Regions from separate parts of the Homo sapiens genome. Here region 1 is linked to region 2. The links are contacts of gene promoters, found by promoter capture Hi-C in human tissues and cell types (Jung and others, 2019). All regions are on one chromosome and are shown on one strand. Each heading gives the region's core, a stretch centred on a gene start or on the middle of the fragment in contact. The rest is flanking DNA. Distances are from core to core; before and after follow the strand shown. Region 1 has its middle 7.0 kb from the start of LINC01353. Region 2 holds the start of TMEM183A (transmembrane protein 183A).

Evidence for each region. The method cuts DNA at HindIII sites, captures the fragments that hold promoters and counts their contacts. A contact is called where the count stands out against the background at its distance.
Region 1: a fragment that was not itself captured here is called in contact with the fragment with the promoter of TMEM183A in region 2 in 1 of the 25 tissues and cell types used here (dorsolateral prefrontal cortex).

What each region holds. Positions count from the first base shown.
Region 1 is chr1:203,291,839-203,296,473 of GRCh38, forward strand. No RefSeq gene overlaps it. Among named protein-coding and RNA genes, the nearest start is that of LINC01353, 7.0 kb to the left of the region's middle. RefSeq lists an enhancer at 4,521-4,635. The HindIII fragment of the contact is 5,946 bases long and covers 218-4,635 here.
Region 2 is chr1:203,005,338-203,009,529 of GRCh38, forward strand. It overlaps TMEM183A (transmembrane protein 183A), which reads left to right and starts at 2,037. Exons shown (of 8, transcript NM_138391.6): 1 at 2,037-2,237; 2 at 2,437-2,526; 3 at 3,306-3,473. The coding sequence starts at 2,129. It also overlaps the pseudogene MGAT4FP. RefSeq lists enhancers at 1-614, 1,256-1,385, 1,389-2,163, 2,164-2,936, a cis regulatory region at 366-715 and a silencer at 2,096-2,345. The HindIII fragment of the contact is 3,668 bases long and covers 1,204-4,192 here.

The DNA of each region.
Region 1 (4,635 bases), core at 1,941-4,440, 290 kb after region 2:
AAATCTCCTTCCTCTTATCACTCTAGGACAAAGACGACAAAAGGTATCCAGATCACGAGGTCAAGTGATTGATTTGTGACCCATGTGACCCATACATAAATGGCAGTGAGCCATAGGGCCAGCCAGACATGGTAAATTTCTGCAGCATTTCTCCTCCCCACTCATTGGCTTCAACGAGCCCCCACGGAACCCTCTCTCAGGGAGGACTGTGCTAGGTAGCCAAGAAGTAGACTGCACAGTGGGCAGGCAGGTATCCTCCCTTTGGAGATGGTTGTCCTCATTAAACATCAGGTATTTGAAGGTGACACCTAATTCCATGCTCCCAGTGGGTAAACTGTTCGTCAGCTGTGCCCAACTGCTCTTTAGGTGCTGGGCAAGATTGGTTCAATGTTTTATTCGAAGATCGATGAGTGATCCAATAGTTTTCCTCAAAATATTCCAGATTCCCCTGGAAGTGGGGATGGAGGGTGGAGAAGACATTCCTTCTCATCAGTGCCTCTGGCTTTGGGATCTCAAGTCAGTTCCTTTTGGGAATCATCCTGCTGACCCTGAGCGCTCTCACTGTTGTGAGCCGTGTCAGGCCTGTCTCTTGTTTCTTCATATGAATTCCTTACAAGGTCTGTATATACATCATGGGCTTTAGTGAAGGTTGGGGTCTCCTGAGGGGGTTAATTTTGCAAAAATGTAAAGAGCTTAAAAAGGGAGTGTTGGGCATTTCTGTTCTTAAACTTCCCTCGGCTTCCTCTCTCACATTGGCTCTAGGCCCTCCCAACACCATTTTAAGGTTACTCAAGCCCCCTTTTTTTGCTGCTCTCTCTCAGGAACAAAAATATAGATTCCTCTTGTTTTCTTCTGTGGAGTAATTCAGCTCTAACCTCCAGCCACACCTCTGAACCTGTCTAAGAATTCAACGAGATAGGTCCAAAGCTTCTGAGTGTGTAAGTTCGTAGGCAAAGAGCCACTTTTTTTTTCTTTTTTTTTTTGAGACGGAGTTTCGCTCTTGTTGCCCAGGCTGGAATGCAATGGCACAATCTCGGCTCACTGGAATCTCTGCCTCCCAGGTTCAAGCGATTCTTCTGCCTCAGCCTCCCGAGTAGCTAGGATTACAGGCAAGCGCCACTACGCCCTGCTAATTTTGTATTTTTAGTAGAGACAGGGTTTCTCCATGTTGGTCAGGCTGGTCTTGAACTCCCGACCTCAGGTGATCTGCCCGCCTCAGCCTCCCAAAGTGCTGGGATTACAGGTGTGAGCCACTGCGCCTGGCCGAGCCGCTTTTTTTAAGCCTGGCAGGTCAGGCTGGAAGATCGTGGTGGTGGTCTTCCTGGACTTATGCAATGTTTTTACATAAGGATATTGACTTACAATAGATTCTGCTGAATTCAAAAAATAGGGGACACAGAGTTGTTCTCTTTCTAGGAGCTTACCCATTCCCACTAAGATAATCATTCTGTTACATGTTTGGGAGCTCAATCGTCTCAAAGCCCTCTTAGACATACCTCATAACCTTCCTGTCTCCATTCACCTCATGAGTTTTTGCCATGGGTTCCACCTTGCTTCTACACAACTCTAATGCTTCAGGGAGGCAGCTGAAACCACCTGGGGCCACCTGACTATTTGACCGAGCGAGGCTCAACCCCTGACCTCAGAGAGTTCCTGAGCCAAGAGGGAAGGAAGGAAACCCTGAAATAAGGATAGAAAGAAATGTAGAGATGATATTGATTGTTACTATCCCAGCCATTATCCTGATTACTTCTGTTGTCGTTATGGGCTCTTATGAAAGGTAAACCCAATTGAGGAAGATACTAAATGCCAACTGAGAACAACTTCAGACTCTTTGGCTCCAGTATTCCAACATAGGGATTCATATCATAAATTTCTTCTTGAGGAATGTGTGGATGTAGCGGGCTGGTGGGGGTGGGTTTTAACAGGCTAACTTGAATGCTTTTTTATATTTCACAATGAAAACTATATAATGCAGGTATTTCCCTTTTTACCTTGGCTTCCTGGAAGTTCAAAGATAAATTTAGGTGTCAAAGAAGTATCTGATTCAAACAAGTTTGTAAATATCTATCTTTCTCTTTCTTCCTCCTACTACCAATTCGTTTCTGATCTTTAATATAATATAAACACACACATAAAATCATCCTCTATGTGGTTTAATATTTTAAGCTGTCTCAAATTCTTCTTGGAAGTAAGCAAAGTATAAATTATAAGTAATAATAGTTAACATGTACTGACCACTATTATGTGCCAGACACTATTCTAAGTATTGTAAACTCATTTGATTCTCCCAACAACTCTAAGAGGTAAGAATTACTATTAATCTCATTTTATAGATAAAGAAATTAAGGCACAGAAAGCTTCAATAACTTGCCTAAGGTAGCACAGCTAGGATTTGAACCTAAGCAGTGTGGCTTTAAGGGATGTGCTCTGCCCATCGCACTAGAACAAATCCGTCAGTTCAAAAACTTAATTAGCCCATCCAGGGACACCAATGTAAAAAAGCATAATTATATGCCATCGGAGCCAGTCATCATCAAAACAAGACTGATATAAGGCCAGGTGCCTATAATCCCAACACTTTGGGACGCCGAGGTGGGCAGATCCCTTGAGGTCAGGAGTTTGAGACGAGCCTGGCCAACATGGAGAAACCCCGTCTCTACTAAAAATAACAAAAATTAGCCAGGTGTGGTGGCGCACAGCTGTAATCCCAGCTACCCAGGAAGCTGAGGCAGGAGAATAGCTTGAACACGGGAGATGGAGGTTGCTGTGAGCCGAGACCATGCCACTATACTCCAGCCTAAGCAACAGAGTGAGATCCTGTCTCAAAAAAAAAGACTAATATATCATAACAAGCAGCTCAGGCCACCCATTCTTAATCTAAATAAAGATTCCTTTCCACTCCTCCCCAACCTTATTCTTAGTGGAAGGGATGGAGGAAGTAGGATTTAGAATCCTTTCCCACCCTTCCCTAGCCCACTCTCACCCCACTACCCCAGCCCCCTTTTTAGAGACTTTCCTGACATGTCCATTGCCCTATATGTTCCTTACTTTTTTCTTCAATAATGTGGGAAAAATAATGTTTTCACTCCTTCTGTATCACTTGCACGGAGATAATTAGTCAGCTTTTTGATGGACAAAGAGCTGAACAGAGAGAATTTCAGGCAGAGCAAATAATATGAGTAAAGGTACAATAAGCTGGGCACTCAGCTACTCAGGAGGCTGAGGGAGGATGATCACTCGAGGTGAGGAGTTTGATGCTGTAGGGAGCTATGTTCATGCCTGTGAGTAAGCACAGCACTCCAGAGCCTGGGCAACATGGCAAGACCTCACTGTTGAAACTACAAAGGCACAATGGTATGAAAGTGCAAAGTATGTATTTGAGAAACACTGAGAATGGGTTAATTGAGCTTTGAGGTTGGGCCAGATTGTAAAGGCCTTGAAGGCCAAACCAAGAATTAAACTTTCAACTGTAGGGAGCCTTCAGAGCTTTTAAACATGAAAGAGACAAGACAGACCTGTAGTTTAGGAGCTCTGACAGCAGAGTATGGACTGAGGAAAGGGCAGGAAGGGAAGCACTTCAGGCAAAGAGACCACTTAGGGAACTGTTGAAACTATCCAAGAACGATCTAACAGTTGGTGGCTTCAGTGATGCTGAGTAGAAGGTATTTCAAGAGGATAACTGACAGGACTGGGCCAGTAATTGGATATGGGATCCGCTCAGGAAGTAGGGCTCCAGGATATCTTGTCACCTCATCAGGAAAATCCTCTCTTGCTGGCAGGTGATCACGTATTCCACTAGGACCCAAGGAGTCATCAATGTGAACCATAGATGACAGATTAAGAGGCAGGGTGGGTCTCCTAGCCCAATACTCTTTTGTTACATATAAGCAAACTAAGGCTCAGGGAACTCCAACCATCTCTCCCTTTCTCCTAGCTCCTTCCTCCAAACCACACGGATCCCTGGACCTGAACCCATGGTGCAGTAGAGAAGTACCTCAGGCCCAGAGCCAGGAGGCCACAGGTGAGAAGCTGCAGTACCTCTTCTTTAGACTTTTTCTTGTGTCCTCCTTTCTGAATCTGTCTTCCTCTTCCCTTCAGCCCCCATCCCCCAGGTGGTCTCTGGCTGTCACAGCTGTGATGCCAGCTTCCTGCTTGCCCCAGACACTCAGCCCCAGGAGGCCCAGCCCCATTACGGCTCTGCCAAAACAACATCTGGGGAAGCTCCAATAGGTTCAGGGCCTCTTCTCTTGTTTTTTGTCTGGAGATAAAGGGGGTTTATCCTGGGCCCCTGGGAGTGAGGATGAGGAGGGTTTACAACATGTCTGTCTTCTAAATTTGGGAAAGAGGCAATAAATTCAGCTTCAGATCTGCTTCTGTCCCAAGTCCATGTGTTCCCCTGTGAGTTTCTGGCACTTTCAGTCACACCTTCTCGTACCATAGGAGAAGGCCTAGAGGGAGAAGGTGTGGGAGGTCACATTCTTGGGGGGCCTCCAGGATAACAGACTTTTAGCAGATCGTTCCCATCCTTTTGCTCCTGATACACCGAGGGAGTCGCAGAAACAAAAACACATCACTAGGGACCTTTCCAGCCATATTGGTCTGGCCATCTGTCCACGTCTCTTCCCCTTCCCC
Region 2 (4,192 bases), core at 787-3,286:
GGAAGTTAGAAGGATAAAGGAGAATAACTTAGGAAACCAAATAACTTCTTATGTGTCGCGGTGATACTTTTCTTTTTTTTTTAATTTATTTATTTATTTACTTTTCATGCGCGTCTGTGTGAAGAGACCACCAAACAGGCTTTGTGTGAGCAATAAAGCTCTTAATCACCTGGGTGCAGGCGGGCTGAGTCGGAAAAGAGAGTCAGTGAAGGGAGATAAGGGTGGGGCCGTTTTATAGGATTTGGGTAGATAAAGGAAAATTGCAGTCAAAGGGGATTTGTTCTCTGGTGGGCAGGAGTGGGGGTCGCAAGGTGCTCAGTGGGGGAGCTTTTTGAGCCAGGAAAAGGACTTTCACAAGGTAATGTCATCACTTAAGGAAGGACTGGCCATTTTCACTTCTTTTGTGGTGGAATGTCATCAGTTAAGGCGGGGCAGGGCATTTTCACTTTTGTGATTCTTCAGTTACTTCAGGCCATCTGGGCGTACACGTGCAAGTCACCAGGGATGCGGTGGCGTGGCTTGGGCTCAGAGGCCTGATAATACTAGCCCAGGGTCCTGCTCCCTTACAGTTCTGTAATCTTCACTCAGTGACTCGCTTCTGTCTCAATACAAAGGAAAGACGTTATTTTTTCTTTTTCTCCTTTTTTTTTTTTTGAGGCAGGGTATCGCTCTGTAGCCCAGGCTGGAGTGCAGTGGCGCAATCATGGCCCACTGCAGCCTTGACCTCCTGGACTCAAGTGACCTTCCTGCCTCTGCGATAGTTTTTCATGGATGCTTCTAGTAGTTTTTTGGAGGTATGGTGTGTTAGGAACAAACTGCCCCAAAAAGCTTCTTGGTACTGCCGACACTTCCCCCAAACCTCTCCGTGCTGCTCACTCCTCCCCCTAATGCTCTGCAACTCTTCTCCTTCCCCCAAGCCTCTTTACACTTCTAAGTCCTTATGAAGCCAGCAGACTTCACTTATCAGACCTTGCTGCAATAAACAAACCCCAATTACAAATCATCCGGACCGCACAGGGGAAGGTGATGGGAAGCATAAACAAACTTTACCTACACCCTCCTGTAATAAACGTCACAAGCTAATATGTGGCAAAATTAACCAGCAAACAACCCCAGGGTCTCTCTCCCCCATATAAACCCCTCATTTTGTAAGCTCAGGGGTGCCTCCTCTGTCTGTGGTGGAGCAGCCGTCAGGTTAATAAACTTCCTCGGCTGACCTTGGGTCTCTCTTTCGTCCTTTCTCTCGGCTAACCTTATATGGTGATAGATTGGAAACTTTTTTTTTTTTGAGACGGAGTCTTGCTCTGTCGCCCAGGCTGGAGTGCAGTGACCCGATCTCAGCTCACTGCAAGCTCCGCCTCCCGGGTTCATGCCATTCTTCCGCCTCAGCCTCCCGAGTAGCTGGGACTACAGGCGCCCGCCACCACGCCCGGCTAATATTTTGTATTTTTAGTAGAGACGGGGTTTCACCGTGTTAGCCAGGATGGTCTCGATCTCCTGACCTCGTGATCCGCCCGCCTCGGCCTTCCAAAGTACTGGGATTAGGGGCGTGAGCCACCGCGCCCGGCCGATTGGAAGCTTTTAAGAACTCCTTCTCCTATTTTGAGAATTCAGAAATTTATTTATAGCTTTCGTAAAATAGAGTGAAGACTCTTACAGACCTATGTTAGACTAGCAGGCGCTCAGTCTCTGTGGTCCGAGATAGAGCACGAAGATGACAGTGTATATGCATTTTGGTGCTGAAGTGGACCTGGAGTGTGGACAGAGGAGTTACTAAGAAGAATCCCGGAGACCAGGATGTAAACTCTCAATTCTAATCAACACAGGTGTGGGCTATGGTTCTGAGACACCATTCATCTCACACGAGGTACGGCGATACGCGACACCACCCAGTACAACAGCTCTCTCTCCACCTGGAACCCGGACCCAGCTTGATTCGCGGGTGCCGGATGATGACGTATCCTTGCACCTGGCGATGATTGGTTCGCGTGGAGAGGCGTCGTCCGACAACGCGACTCGGAACCCGGACCTATGTTCTCGCGAGAGTTAGCGGCCTCCGGTGTGGGATGGCCGCGGAGCCGGGCGGAGCTGGCTTGCGGCTCCCGGGGCCGGCTCTCCGGCCGGAGACATGGCCCGGGGGCCCGGCCCGCTAGGCAGGCCTCGCCCCGATACGGTCGCCATGCCCAAGAGAGGAAAGCGACTCAAGTTCCGGGCCCACGACGCCTGCTCCGGCCGAGGTGGGCGAGGGGGGCAGGGGCGCTGAAACATTTTGGGGGCTGGCGGCTGGGAGGGGGCTGGACCGTGCCGAGGTGAGCGCTCGCGTGCCCGCGGCTGGAGGGCGGCTCGGTCCGGGGGCCTGCAGCGAGGAGGAGGTGTTGGCGGGGAAGACGCTGACGAGAGAAGGCCTCTTCCTTGAGGGTTGGTGCTGTGTTGCAGTGACCGTGGCGGATTACGCCAACTCGGATCCGGCGGTCGTGAGGTCTGGACGAGTCAAGAAAGCCGTAGCCAACGCTGTTCAGCAGGAAGGTAAGCTTTGCGCGAGCCTTTAAAGACTCATGCCGCGAAGACAGAACTAGGTATTTTATTTCTGTTTTTCTTGCAGTCCTTTAGTCGTCTTCCTGTAACCGTGTTTGCTTTCGTTAGTGTTAACTTACATATTGGGGTGGAGGAGGATTAGTCAAGAGTAGCAGTTTCTGTAGCAGAAATATTTTCTTTCTTTCTTTGCATTTAAAAACATGTTTGCATACTTTTTAGTTTCCACTGCATTCTTCTTGGTTATTAATCTCTTTGCTGTAGTTCACATGTTTTACTCTGCAGTTTGCTTCCTTGTTTAATAACCTTGGAGTGTTCTTTTCCTTTTCTGGTGTTTCTCTTGCTTTCAGTCTGTTTACTCATGGGTCTGAGACTTGTGTTTTATGACACCTACTGCCTCCAGCTCAGGACCAGGATTAAATTGGATTCAATTTGTCTCAAACATTTCTCTGTAGACCTTATGAGAATACAAATCAGCTTTTATCCTGCAGGGTTTATAGTGGAAAAATTGTACACACCTTTTTTCTTCAGGGCTGAAAAAAGGAGTTTCTGCAACTTTGGAGTCAGTTTGCCCATTGCTTTCCTTTTTTTTTTTTTTTTTTGTATTTAAAATACTAAAATCTTTATTTTTTTTGGTGACAGATTCTCACCTTTCTCTCTCAACGATGTTTTTTTTCCCCCCTTTCCTGAATGGATGCTGATACCTTGGCTAAGTTGTTTGTATTTCTGGGTGGAGCTGTGTGCCATCTCATTCTCCTTTTATTTTCTTCTAGTAAAATCTCTTTGTGGCTTGGAAGCCTCTCAGGTTCCTGCAGAGGAAGCTCTTTCTGGGGCTGGTGAGCCCTGTGACATCATCGACAGCAGTGATGAGATGGATGCCCAGGAGGAAAGCATCCATGAGAGAACTGTCTCCAGAAAAAAGAAAAGCAAGAGACACAAAGGTATGGAGCTTGTTCTCTTTTGGTTTATTAGACCTGCCTGTGGTGACAAATTGAAGATGTTACTTTCCCAGTAGCACAGGAGGAGATATAAGACGTGATACCAGGAGAGTTTAAAGAAAACTTGGCTCTCCCTAAGAACCTTGGTAGTGGGCCGGGATTTAATACACCTGGGCTTTCTTTTTTCTTTTGTCTGAATTCGAGAGGGAAAGAGATTAGTACGTGTTAGTAGAGTTCTGGAGCTGTGAACTGGACTCTAGTAGCCCTTCATTGAGAACATGTTATTATCAGGTAAAAACCCATAAGGCAATGTGAAAATAAAAGGCCTTTGCATTTCTGGATTTCTGAATGTGTAAGGAAGCAGAGATGTAACCAAAAAATGTTTTCCAAAGTATGTGGATTTTACGTTAACTAGTTTTGTTACACACAAACATAGACATTATCGTGGGCTTTTAAGTGCTCTGCAATTAGTAATGTCTGCTTTATGTCTAATAAGTATTGTGGGAAATAGAAAAGTAGGTGATTTTTTTATATCCTAATGGCAATGAAATGTACACAAATGAAACAAAGAATAATAAACTGATGATAATATAACGTGCCAAACCATCATTCAGATTCTGGGTTTTCCTTCAGACTTAATGAGTCAGAATCTCTTGGGGTGGAACTCAGAATTTTTATTTATTTATTTTTTTGAGACAGGGTTTTGGTCTCTTGCCTGGGCT